Linked DNA regions of Homo sapiens: region 2 is linked to region 1. The links are contacts of gene promoters, found by promoter capture Hi-C in human tissues and cell types (Jung and others, 2019). All regions are on one chromosome and are shown on one strand. Each heading gives the region's core, a stretch centred on a gene start or on the middle of the fragment in contact. The rest is flanking DNA. Distances are from core to core; before and after follow the strand shown.

The links. Contacts are between HindIII fragments. The study calls those that stand out against the background at their distance.
Region 2: a contact is called between a fragment that was not itself captured here and the fragment with the promoter of ABCC3 in region 1, in 1 of the 25 tissues and cell types used here (mesendoderm cells).

What each region holds. Positions count from the first base shown.
Region 1 is chr17:50,632,089-50,636,130 of GRCh38, forward strand. It overlaps ABCC3 (ATP binding cassette subfamily C member 3), which reads left to right and starts at 2,793. Exons shown (of 31, transcript NM_003786.4): 1 at 2,793-2,893. The coding sequence starts at 2,849. RefSeq lists a silencer at 2,763-2,812. The HindIII fragment of the contact is 6,790 bases long and covers 1-4,042 here.
Region 2 is chr17:50,781,153-50,787,433 of GRCh38, forward strand. No RefSeq gene overlaps it. Among named protein-coding and RNA genes, the nearest start is that of MIR8059, 16 kb to the left of the region's middle. The HindIII fragment of the contact is 7,282 bases long and covers 1-4,971 here.

The DNA of each region.
Region 1 (4,042 bases), core at 1,543-4,042:
ACAGTGATAAACAAACTTCAGTCCCTACCCTCAAGGTGTCCACAGTCCTCTGGGGGAGGTAAGCAAGACATCAGTGATTACAAGTGGGGGAAGCCTCCTAGCCCAGGACTGGGTTGGGGAGGTCCAAGGAAGGCTTTGACGGGGAGGGGGGCTTGAGCGAACTCTTGAAGAAGTTTGCCACTTGCAGAAAGGGAGGTAGGGTGTAGGTAGGAGAGTGCACCAAGCAGCCTTGAAGACAGATACAGGAAGTGCATCCCGCTCAAGGAGACTGCGCAGAAACAGTCTCCTCGGCAGACGTGGGGCGCCTCCTGCGTGTGCTGGGATAAGCTCTGTGGCGCTGAGCAAGCTGTAGGGTGTCTCAGGGCCTCAGATTTCTTGCTCTGGTGAGAACAACCAAAACAATAACATCCTAGAAATATTGTGGTTATTATTCAAGGGCTCTGTGAAAGGGGACACACTTCCTGAGTGGCCTGGAGGGGTAAAGCCCCAATACCTCAAGAGAGATGGGGGAAGGTGAGGATCGCTAAGGGCCCCCACCACGCCCTCAGAGTGCCCAACCCAGTGCTATAGCCTTGGGAAAGCAATAGCGATAGAAAAGCCTGGGGCTGCAAGGGATGGTGCTTCAGCTCCGATGCTGAAGCCAGAACCCAAGGGTCCTAGCCCAAAACTAGAGCTCCAGCCAGTGCACTGCCTGGCCAACTGTGGGGCTGGAAAGTCCCGGACGGAAGCTCAGGCTAGTTCTGGGCTCTCCATCTCAGAAAGGAGGTCTGATTGGGGAGCTCACCTCCCAAAGGGCCCTAAAGGAAAGTCCCCAGGTCTCCTCAAGCCCAGAGCAATCTGGTGCCTATGACCCCACAAGCCCTAGAAAAGGAATGGGAGAGGAGGGAGAGTTGGAGGAAGCCGGTGGGTAGACAAGGTCAAAACACAGGGGCAGTGGGTGCTGATGAAGCCATGACCAGGGTCATGGAAGGGGTGGAGGAAGGTTCCCAGCTGCCTAGGCCATAGAAGCCTGGCCCACCAGGGCTGGAAGAGAGCTTAGATATCACCCTGTCCACGTTTCTCAAGAAATGAAGTCCCAGAGGCATCAAGGAGCTTATTGAGATCACACAGTGTATAAAAGGTATGGAGGGGGATTGGAGGGGACTGAGTTAGTCCCTGCCCTTGGGGACCTCTCAGATTAGCAGGGAAGACAGACTCTTCATAACTAAATATAATCCAAGGCACGCCGTAACAAGGTGTAAAGCTCTGTAAAGTATTTTGCCCAGAGATGAAGGTAGGGGGACAGGAGAGGGAGGGTATGTGTGGATGAGTGGAAAGGAAGAGGGCAGACAAAGAAGGGGCTGAAAGAACTTGCCCAGTGGAGGGGTAGAAGTCCCTGGTCTGACTGCCTGGGAAAGGGGAATCTTCTCCACTCCCACCCCTATCCCATGCCCAGCCAGATCTTGGTTCTGATAGCCTATAGCCAAGGAGACTTCCCTTCTAGTGACCTCCTGGCTGCCCAGAGAGATAGGAGGTGGCTTGCCCCTTCTGCACTCTTACTGGCTCCCACCCACACCTGCCGCTGAGCAGCCAAGGAAGGAAACACCTTCTCTTGAGAACAAGGGCCAGAAAAGGGGTCACCGGGGTGAAACTGGACAGACCTGTGGGCAAAGGCAGGGAAGAGAAGGGCCAGGGAAAGATTTGCCAGGGAGAATTCCTTCTGAGCCCCAACAAGCGGTGCTGAGTTGGCGTCTGGGATTGTGTTAAGGAAGACAGGGCAACAGCGGGATTGAGAGATGGAGGGATCCCCGCATCTGAGGGGATACCGGGAGAAGGAGAGCTGAGGCAAGCAGGAGAAGGAGAGCACTGACAAGCCCATTTTACAGATCAGGAATGTAGAGTTTCAGCCTTAGGAGGAGGACGAGGACGAGGACACTCACGTGGGGCTCCTCCTGGGGCTTCACCTGTCCTTCCCCCCCCAACCCTGATCAGGCTGAAGCAGAGGGAATTCACACATGTTGGGTGCCCACTAAGTGTGCCAGGAAATACGCTTTGCCTACCCTTTCCATTCAATCCTCAGAGAACCCTGGGAGGAAGATTCTCTTCTATGATTGTCTCTATTTTACGGATGTGAAAGTAGAGGCCCAGAGACGTGCCGAGGTGATGTGGCAAGGTCAGGGAGCCACAGAGCCTAAGAGGGCAGCAGTTTAAGAGGACATAAGAGGCCCCCGCTGGACGATGCTGCGGCCCCCACCCCCGCCTCACGGGTACACACCCGCGGAGCACACCCCGTGTGCTCCCCGTGTGGCGCCTGCCAGTGGTCTCTGGAACCTGATGGGGAAGAGGTCAGCTTCCTGATTGAGCACAGAAGCCCTTCCCATTTTACAGATGAGGAAACTGACCTCCGGAGAGGAACGTGACCTTCTCAAAGATTCCTTTTTTACTAGGAAAGATTGTTAAATCCCTCTCCCTACGTCCCCTACTCAATGACTCATCGGCCCCACGGACTTGTTCGGGAGTGGGAGCGCCTGTGTATCCCAGTTCCCCCTTGGAAATAGACTCGACTCCTGGACTGTTAGCCTCGGTATTTAGAGAGACATCCCCCTGGCTTGGCCCAGGGGCCGCTCGCAGGGGCTGTCGCCGTGCCAAGGGCCCCCCCACCTCTGCCCCAAAGTCCCTCCCAGGGAGGCGCTGTCGCAACCCGCGGGACGGGGGCAGGGAGACCGGACCCAGAGGCACTGGGGTAGGGCTCGGCAGGGCGGGTCCGGGCGGAGCGCGGGGTGCGGAGGGCGGAGGCGGCTCCGGCGCCCGCTCTGCCCGCCGCTGGGTCCGACCGCGCTCGCCTTCCTTGCAGCCGCGCCTCGGCCCCATGGACGCCCTGTGCGGTTCCGGGGAGCTCGGCTCCAAGTTCTGGGTAAGGCGCGGGGCTCCGGGGTCACTGCGCGGGGGCCAGGGTCGGCCGGCTTCGCCCGGTCCCCGCCGCCTGCCTTCCCGCGGGGCCGGCAGGTATCCCGGGACGGAGCCCCTGAGACGGCCTGGGCGCCCGGGAGGGGGCGATGGGCTCGGGAGGGAGGTTGGCTGCGCCGCCCGGAGCCGGGTCCCACGCGGTGTCGGGGACCTGCCCTGCTCTGCCCTTCCCGGCTGCAGCACTGGGGAGCCCGGGAAAGTGAGGAAGAGTGCGCGGCTGGGGCGCAAAGGCACAGTGCGTGGCTGGGTGAGTCGGCTCCATCCCAGCCCCTCCGTCGGGTGCGGAAGGGGCGTTTCGCAATCAGCCGCGGGTTCCTGATGGAGGGTCTTCCCTCAGCATCTGCCTCAGGTTAGGACTCGGTTGCCCACCTGGGCATGGATTGCCCCCAGGGCATCCAGAGCACCTGCTCAACCAGGTGTTTTGGGAGGCCGGCTGTGCAGTGTCCCACCCTTCTTAGGAAGGTTTCCTGCCACCTTCTTTTCTCTAGGTAAGACTGAGGTCTGAGAGCAGGCCATCCCCACCACTCCGGACTCAGAAGGGAGAAGCAGACCCCAGTCTGGAGACAGGTGCAGGGTGTCAGGATTCCTGTAGTCCAACTCCCTTCTCACAGATGGAGAAAGGGAGGCCCAGAGAGAGGAAGGGACTTGCCCAAAGTTACCCAGTTCAATGAAGGCAGAGCTGGGATAGAAAAACAGGCTACAGGCCAGGTGCAGTGGTTCACGCCTGTAATCCCACCCTTTGGGAGGCAGAGGTGGGAGGATCACTTCAGCCCAGGAGTTTTAGATTACTGTGAGCTATGATCGCACCACTGCACTGTGGCCTGGGCGAAAGAGTGAGACCCTGTCTCTAAAAAAATAAATAAATAAGAAAAGAAAATCAAGCCTTTGGTGACTCTCACTCCAAATCTCTTTCTAAGACAGGCTGCTCTTCAGCCTGCTGACTCCAGCCTCCAGCACAGTTCAGGTGAGCTAAGTGCATACAGCCTAGGAGCTTTCTTACCAACTTGCAAAACTTACTTGCCTCTATGAGGCAAGTGATCATGTGGTCTCCGTTTTACAGAGGGAGCTCAGATTAAAGGTGCTTCTCTGTGGTCAT
Region 2 (6,281 bases), core at 81-2,580, 150 kb after region 1:
TGGCATGGGAACAGAGCGGACGCATTACGGAAACCCAGTTCTTGGGCAAAAGATAAGGAAGCGAAGGGCCTCACTGGAAATCTCCTGGCTTCTGGGTGTCCAGGGTGGCTGTCCCAGGCAGGCGACGGTCTTCTTGGCGGCCAGGCTGCGTATGCGTCACGAGGAAGCCTCCAGATGGAGCGCGGCCGCCAAGGCGCAGTAGCAGGGCGACGACGCTCCGAGAGGTCCCCATCGTCAGACCCCTCTGGCTTCCATGGCGCGTCTTCAAACCCGGCCGATCCCGGCGAGTGTGGCGGCCGCGCAGCGCAGTGGCGAATTCGATCTTCTGGGTCTCCGGGTGGTTCCCACTGGGGCTCTCGCGCCGTCTCTCTGGAGCCAAAGGCCCCCCTCACACGGCTTTCGCCAGTGCATCGCTTTTCCCAGCGGAAGTTCACAGAGACAGGGGGATTGAGAAGGTCTATTTTTTATTTGTCTTTTAAACTGTAGCTATACCAGTGAGTGTGAAGTGGTATCTTATTTTGGTTTTGATTTGCATTTCCCTAATGACTAGTGATGTTGAACATCTCTTCTTGTGTTTATTGGCCATTTGCATGTCTTCTTTAGAGAAACATCTATTCAAATCATTTGCCTATTTTATTTTATTTTATTTTATTTTATTTTATTTTATTTTATTTTATTTTATTTGAGACGGAGTCTCACTCTGTCGCCCAGGCTGAAGCGCAGTGATGTGATCTTGGCTCACTGCAACCTCCGCCTTCCGGGCTGAAGTGATCCTCCCGCTTCAGCCTCTCGAATAGCTGGGATTACAGGCTCGTGCCACTGTGTCAGGCTAATTTTTGTATTTTTAGTAGAGATGGGGTTTCACCATGTTGGCCAGGCTGTCTAGGACTCCTGACGTCAAGTGTTCTGCCTGCCTTGACCTCCCAAAGTGCTGGGATTACAGGCATGAGCCACCGAGCCTGGCCTTTGCCTATTTTAAAATTGGGTTGTCTTCTTATTGAGTTGTAAGAGCCTTTTTACATATTCTGGTTACAAGTCCCTGATCAGGTATATGATTTATGAATATTTTCTCCCATTCTGTGGATTGTCTCTTCACTTTCTTGATGTGCACTTTTTTTTTTTTTTTTTTTTTTTTTTTTGAGACAGAGTCTCGCTCTGTTGCCCAGGCTGGAGTGCAGTGGCTCCATCTCGGCTCACTGCAAGCTCCGCCTCCCGGGTTCACGCCATTCTCCTGCCTCAGCCTCCCAGGTAGCTGGGACTACAGGCACCTGCCACCACTCCCGGCTAATTTTTTGTATTTTTAGTAGAGACCGGGTTTCACCGTGTTAGCCAGGATGGTCTTGATCTCCTGACCTCGTGACGCCCGCCTTGGCCTCCCAAAGTGCTGGGATTACAGGCGTGAGCCACCGCGCCCGGCCTATGTGTTTTACATTATGTTACTTGGTGCACGTTTTATTTTCTGGGGTCTTTCCCTTTTAGCAGTACAAAGAGATCCGTCGTGTTTCATATAATTTTTTGAGCTTCATGTCATGACCTTGGTTTTCTTTTGGTTCGCATGTGCCTGGATATCTTTGCCCTTTTTTTTTTTTTTTTTTTTTTTTTTTTTTTTTTTGCGATGGAGTCTTGGTCTGTCGCCCAGGCTGGAGCGCAGTGGTGGGAACTTGGCTCACTGCAACCTCTGCCTTCCGGGTTCAAGCGATTCTCCTGCCTCAGCCTCCCAGGTAGCTGGGATTACAGGCATGTGCCATGATGCCCCACTAATTTGTTTGCATTTTTAGTAGAGATGGGGTTTCACCATGCTGGCCAGGCTGGTCTCGAACTCCTGACCTCAAGTGATCTGCCCACCTCGGCCTCCCAAAGTGCTGGGATTACAGACATGAGCCACCGCGCCCAGCGGGCCCGTTTTAAAAGTCGATATCATTTCCCACCTGTATCTTGTGAGCATAGTCAACGCTCAGTGAAGGTCAGCTTCCTTCCTCTTGCCTGTCCTCATGAAATGCCCCTTCCCATACCGCCCCCGCGCCCCAGGAGTAGCCTTTGCTGTCCCAGGACTGAGCTCCAACATGGGAGCCCCTCTCAATACCTCCTCTTGAGCCTGCCCCTTTCCTTCCCTGCCATTCCCATGCAAGGCCACTGGGCAGGGCAGGTCCGCACCACCGAGTTGCCATTCTCCGTGTGTCCACCAGGGGCCGCCCCACTCCTGCCTGAGCTTCCTCCAAGAACCTGCATTTTTAATTCAGTCCCTCCCTGGTCTCCCATCTCTCCCAGCACCACCTTTGGGTGTAAAGCCGCAGAGCAGTATTCCTGGTTATCCAAGGAGTCCATAAACTGTCCTGTGGGAAATCAGCCCAATGCACCCTGGCTCCCTCATTCAGCAACTGTGTTGTAGTTTTCTTGTCTGCAAAAAGAAAATAATAATTTCCACCTCACTTAGAAAGAATATGTAGGCTGGGCATGGTGGCTCATGCCTGTAATCCCAGCAATTTGGGAGACCAAGGCGGGCGGATCACTTGAGGCCAGCAGTTTGAGACCAGCCTGGGCAACATGGCGAAACACCGTCTCTAGTGAAAATACAAAAATTAGCCAGGCGTTGTGACACATACCTATGATCCCAGTTACTCCAGAGGCTGAGCTTGCAGTGAGCTGAGACCGCACCACTGCACTCCAACCTGGGCAACCAAGTGAGACCCTGTCTCAAAAACAAAACAAAACAAACAAAAACAGAAAGAAATAATATATAGTTCGGGAGCCTGAGGCACGAGAATCACCTGAACCTGGGAGATGGAGGTTGCAGTGAGCTGAGATGGCACCACTGCACTCCAGCCTGGGCAACAGAGTGAGACTGTCCAAAAAGAAAAAGAAAAAGAAAAGAAAAGAAAAAAGAAAAATAAATAATATATAGTGTTCAGCAATGTGCCTGGTATACAGTAGGTGCCTAATAAAAGCAAGTCACTTTACAAGAGTTCAAAGTCCGTCCCTCCACAACTCTCCCTAAAGCTCTCCAGGCCTGTCTGTTTTCTTAGGTAATGGGTTGGCACCCAGGTTACATGGGGGTGAGATCTCCTTGTAGGGGCACAAGCTTCATGGGTTACAAAGTCAGAAGTGTGAATGTTTCTATTTTCTATAATTGACTTGGATTTCCACCTCCATTTCCCATGTTGCACGATGTGGAAACATTTTTATTACAGAATTCAGGGTTTCCTCAGTCAATTCTTTTTTTTCTGCGACGGAGTCTTGCTCTGTCACCCAGGCTGGAATGCAGTGGTGCGATCTCTGCTCACTGCAACCTCTGCCTCCTGGGATCAAGTGATTCTCCTGCCTCAGCCTCCCGAGTAGCTGGGATTACAGGCATGTGTCACCATACCTGGCTAATTTTTGTATTCTTAGTAGAGACATGGTTTCACCATGTTGGCCAGGCTCGATTCCAACTCTTGACCTTGTGATCCACCCGCCTTGGCCTCCCAAAGTGCTGGGACTACAGGTGTGAGCTACCACGCCTGGCCTCTTCAGTCAATTCTAAGTTTTTGCCTCCCCCTTTGCCCTGGGGTCCCAGCTAATGGTGTCAGCAGGGAGAGGGCTCTGATCTTGGTCGTTCTCGTTTTCTCTGCTGGTATCTGTAAAGATGGTCTCTGGCCCTATCGGGCATCATTTGCTGATTTCCGTTCTCACTGGATTCATTACTGCCCGTGTCCATCCCATCAGCATTCACCATGAGGGCCCGCGGCCCACCTGGCCTCCTTGTTATACCATCCTGATCCTGAGCTTCATGTGGTCCCAGAACCCTCTCTCAGCCACTTCAATGGGAAACTGTGGGGAGGGGTTTGTCTCAGGCCCTCTCTGCCCAGACAAGCCACAGCAGCATGTCTCCTTACGTGTAGAGACATGAGGGTGTTCTGGGAGATGGTACCTCAGTGCCTTCACCAGGAAGTGCCTTCACCACTGCGCCCCTCTACTCCCTGAGCTCTGCAGTGCCCCTACTGCAGCCCAGACAACAGGGCTGGAGTGGGGAGGAGAGAGCCATCGTGTGATCAGTGTTTTTACTGAGGCAAGGACCTCAACTTTGAAGCTAGTATCCAAGACCTAGCTCCACTGGCTTCTCTTCATTTCTTCTGAAACATTCCTGCCCCAAGGACATCCTTGCTGCCACCTGCATTGGGGCGGGGCGGTATGACATGCTAGAGAAAGAAGCCTGGTTAACATTTCCTAATCTAGCTTGGCACATCTTTTGCCCTGTTTTCAGGGTACTCCTAGTACAGACTGACACATGCCCGCCCCATAGCACCCTAGGGAAGTTTATGCTCCCAGTAATGAGTAGGGCAGAGCCAAGGTGGTGGATGAGGTTTTCTGAGGGTTGGTACTCAGCCCCTTCTGGGAGGGGAGACGATCCTGGTTGTAAACAATAGAAAACAACCCTGGTTAACTATAGCCCAAAAATAATTTTCTGGAATGATGATGGATGGTTCATAGAGTCACAGGGTAAACTGGAACCAGCCTGACAAATTGGGCAGGAACCCAGAAGGCTGGGAGGCAGAATCACAGGGAGGGTCTTATGAGGACAATCATGCCAACCTCACAACCATCACTGCCCTTTGATGGTGGCAGCTGGGACCCCAACATTAGAGGAGTGACACCTCAATGGTCCCAGCTTCTCAATAACCCTCAGTCAGTGTCAAAGTCCTAGGCAGGATGAACCAAGGCTGAGTTCCCAAGCACCCCCTGCAGGAATTGGATCTTTGGCCCCCTTAGGCTTCCATAGGGGGAACACTGCCTCCAGCCCATCTTGAGATTTGTATCCTCCCCTCTCGATTGGTATTTGGATGACAAGCAACTAAAATCAGCAAATGCACACATCTCTCTAATTTCCCTGAATGTGCATTTGCCAAGAGGCAGTTTCAAACCTGCCTCATTTGAGCAGTCTACTCAGAGTGCTGTTTGTTTATGCCACTCGGAGAGCTTGCCAAATACAGTGAAGTCATCTGAACAGCCTGAGCGCTTCCAGATAAATACATTGGCCTCCTTTCCATGGCCCCCATAGTAGCTAACATGTACTGAACAGTGGGCCAGGCACTGAGCTCAGCGCTCTACCTGGAGGATTGCCTTGGGCCTTACTGCCATTTTTCCAAGGAAGAGACTGAGGCCCAGTGGTTTACTAGCTTTCCCCAGTTCACACAGGTCTAGATGGGAATAACAGGGACTTGACCCCACACAGCCTGTCGGGCCCTGCTCCCTGGTGATCTAATGGAGCAGACGTTAAACCAATAACCACAGGATTACGTACGTGATTAAAAGGAGCACTGGAAAGGGAAAGAACAGGGTAGGAGGAGGGAGGATGGCAGAGAAGACAATTCATAGGGGTGGGGTGGGTGGGGGTCCCGGGAAGGCCTCTGGAAGAACATTTAAGCTGTGACCCAAATGATGGATTTAGCCAGGCCAAGAGCGAGGGGAAAGAGGCAGTGGCAAGTACCGAGACCTCTGAGGCAGGAGAGAGGGGAATGTGTTCGGGGGATGAAAACAAGGGCCAATGCAGCGGGAGCAGAGGGAGCTGGGGATTTCTGGGTGGGGCCATCAGGCAGGGCCAGGCTGAGCCTTGGTGTTCTTCAGCTCAGAACCCCTCACCTCCTCTCACTGACCCCCACCCCATCCTCTGAGATCCGACCTCACAGCATAGTCAGATCCAACCTCTTCTCCCCACCTCCGCTGCGGCCACCCTAGTCTGATTATTGCAATATCCCCTCCCATTCCCACTGGTCTCCCTGCTTCTGCACCGCCCCCATATCTCTTCTTTCTCAGCAATAAAGTGATCCTTTTAGCATGGAAGTCAGAGCTTGCCAGGCCTCTGCTTCTCATTTTGCTTAGAGTAAGTGCCTAAGTCTTGCAATGGTCTACAAAGCCCTCCACAGTCTGGATCCCAGGAGCTCCTGCAACGTGGTCCCCTCTCTCACTTGGCTGTAGCCCCACTGGCCCTGTGCTCCTTCTCAAGTACACCAGGCAAGCCCCTATCTGGAAGGAGGGCCTTTGCACTGCCCGTTCCCTTGGCCCGGAATGTTCTTTCCTCACATATCCATGGGTCTCTCATCCTTCAGCAGGCCTGCCCGGGCATGTTCTCATAGTGGAGCTCAGGGCAAGAACAGATGGAGATGCTAAGCCCTCTTCTGCCTGCCTCCGGTCTGCTAACATCCTGCTGGCCACAGCAAGCACGTGGCTGAGCCCAGAGTCTGAGTGGGAGGGCACCAGGATGGTAGATGCACACGGTAAAGACACAGGGAGTAAAGCACTGGGGC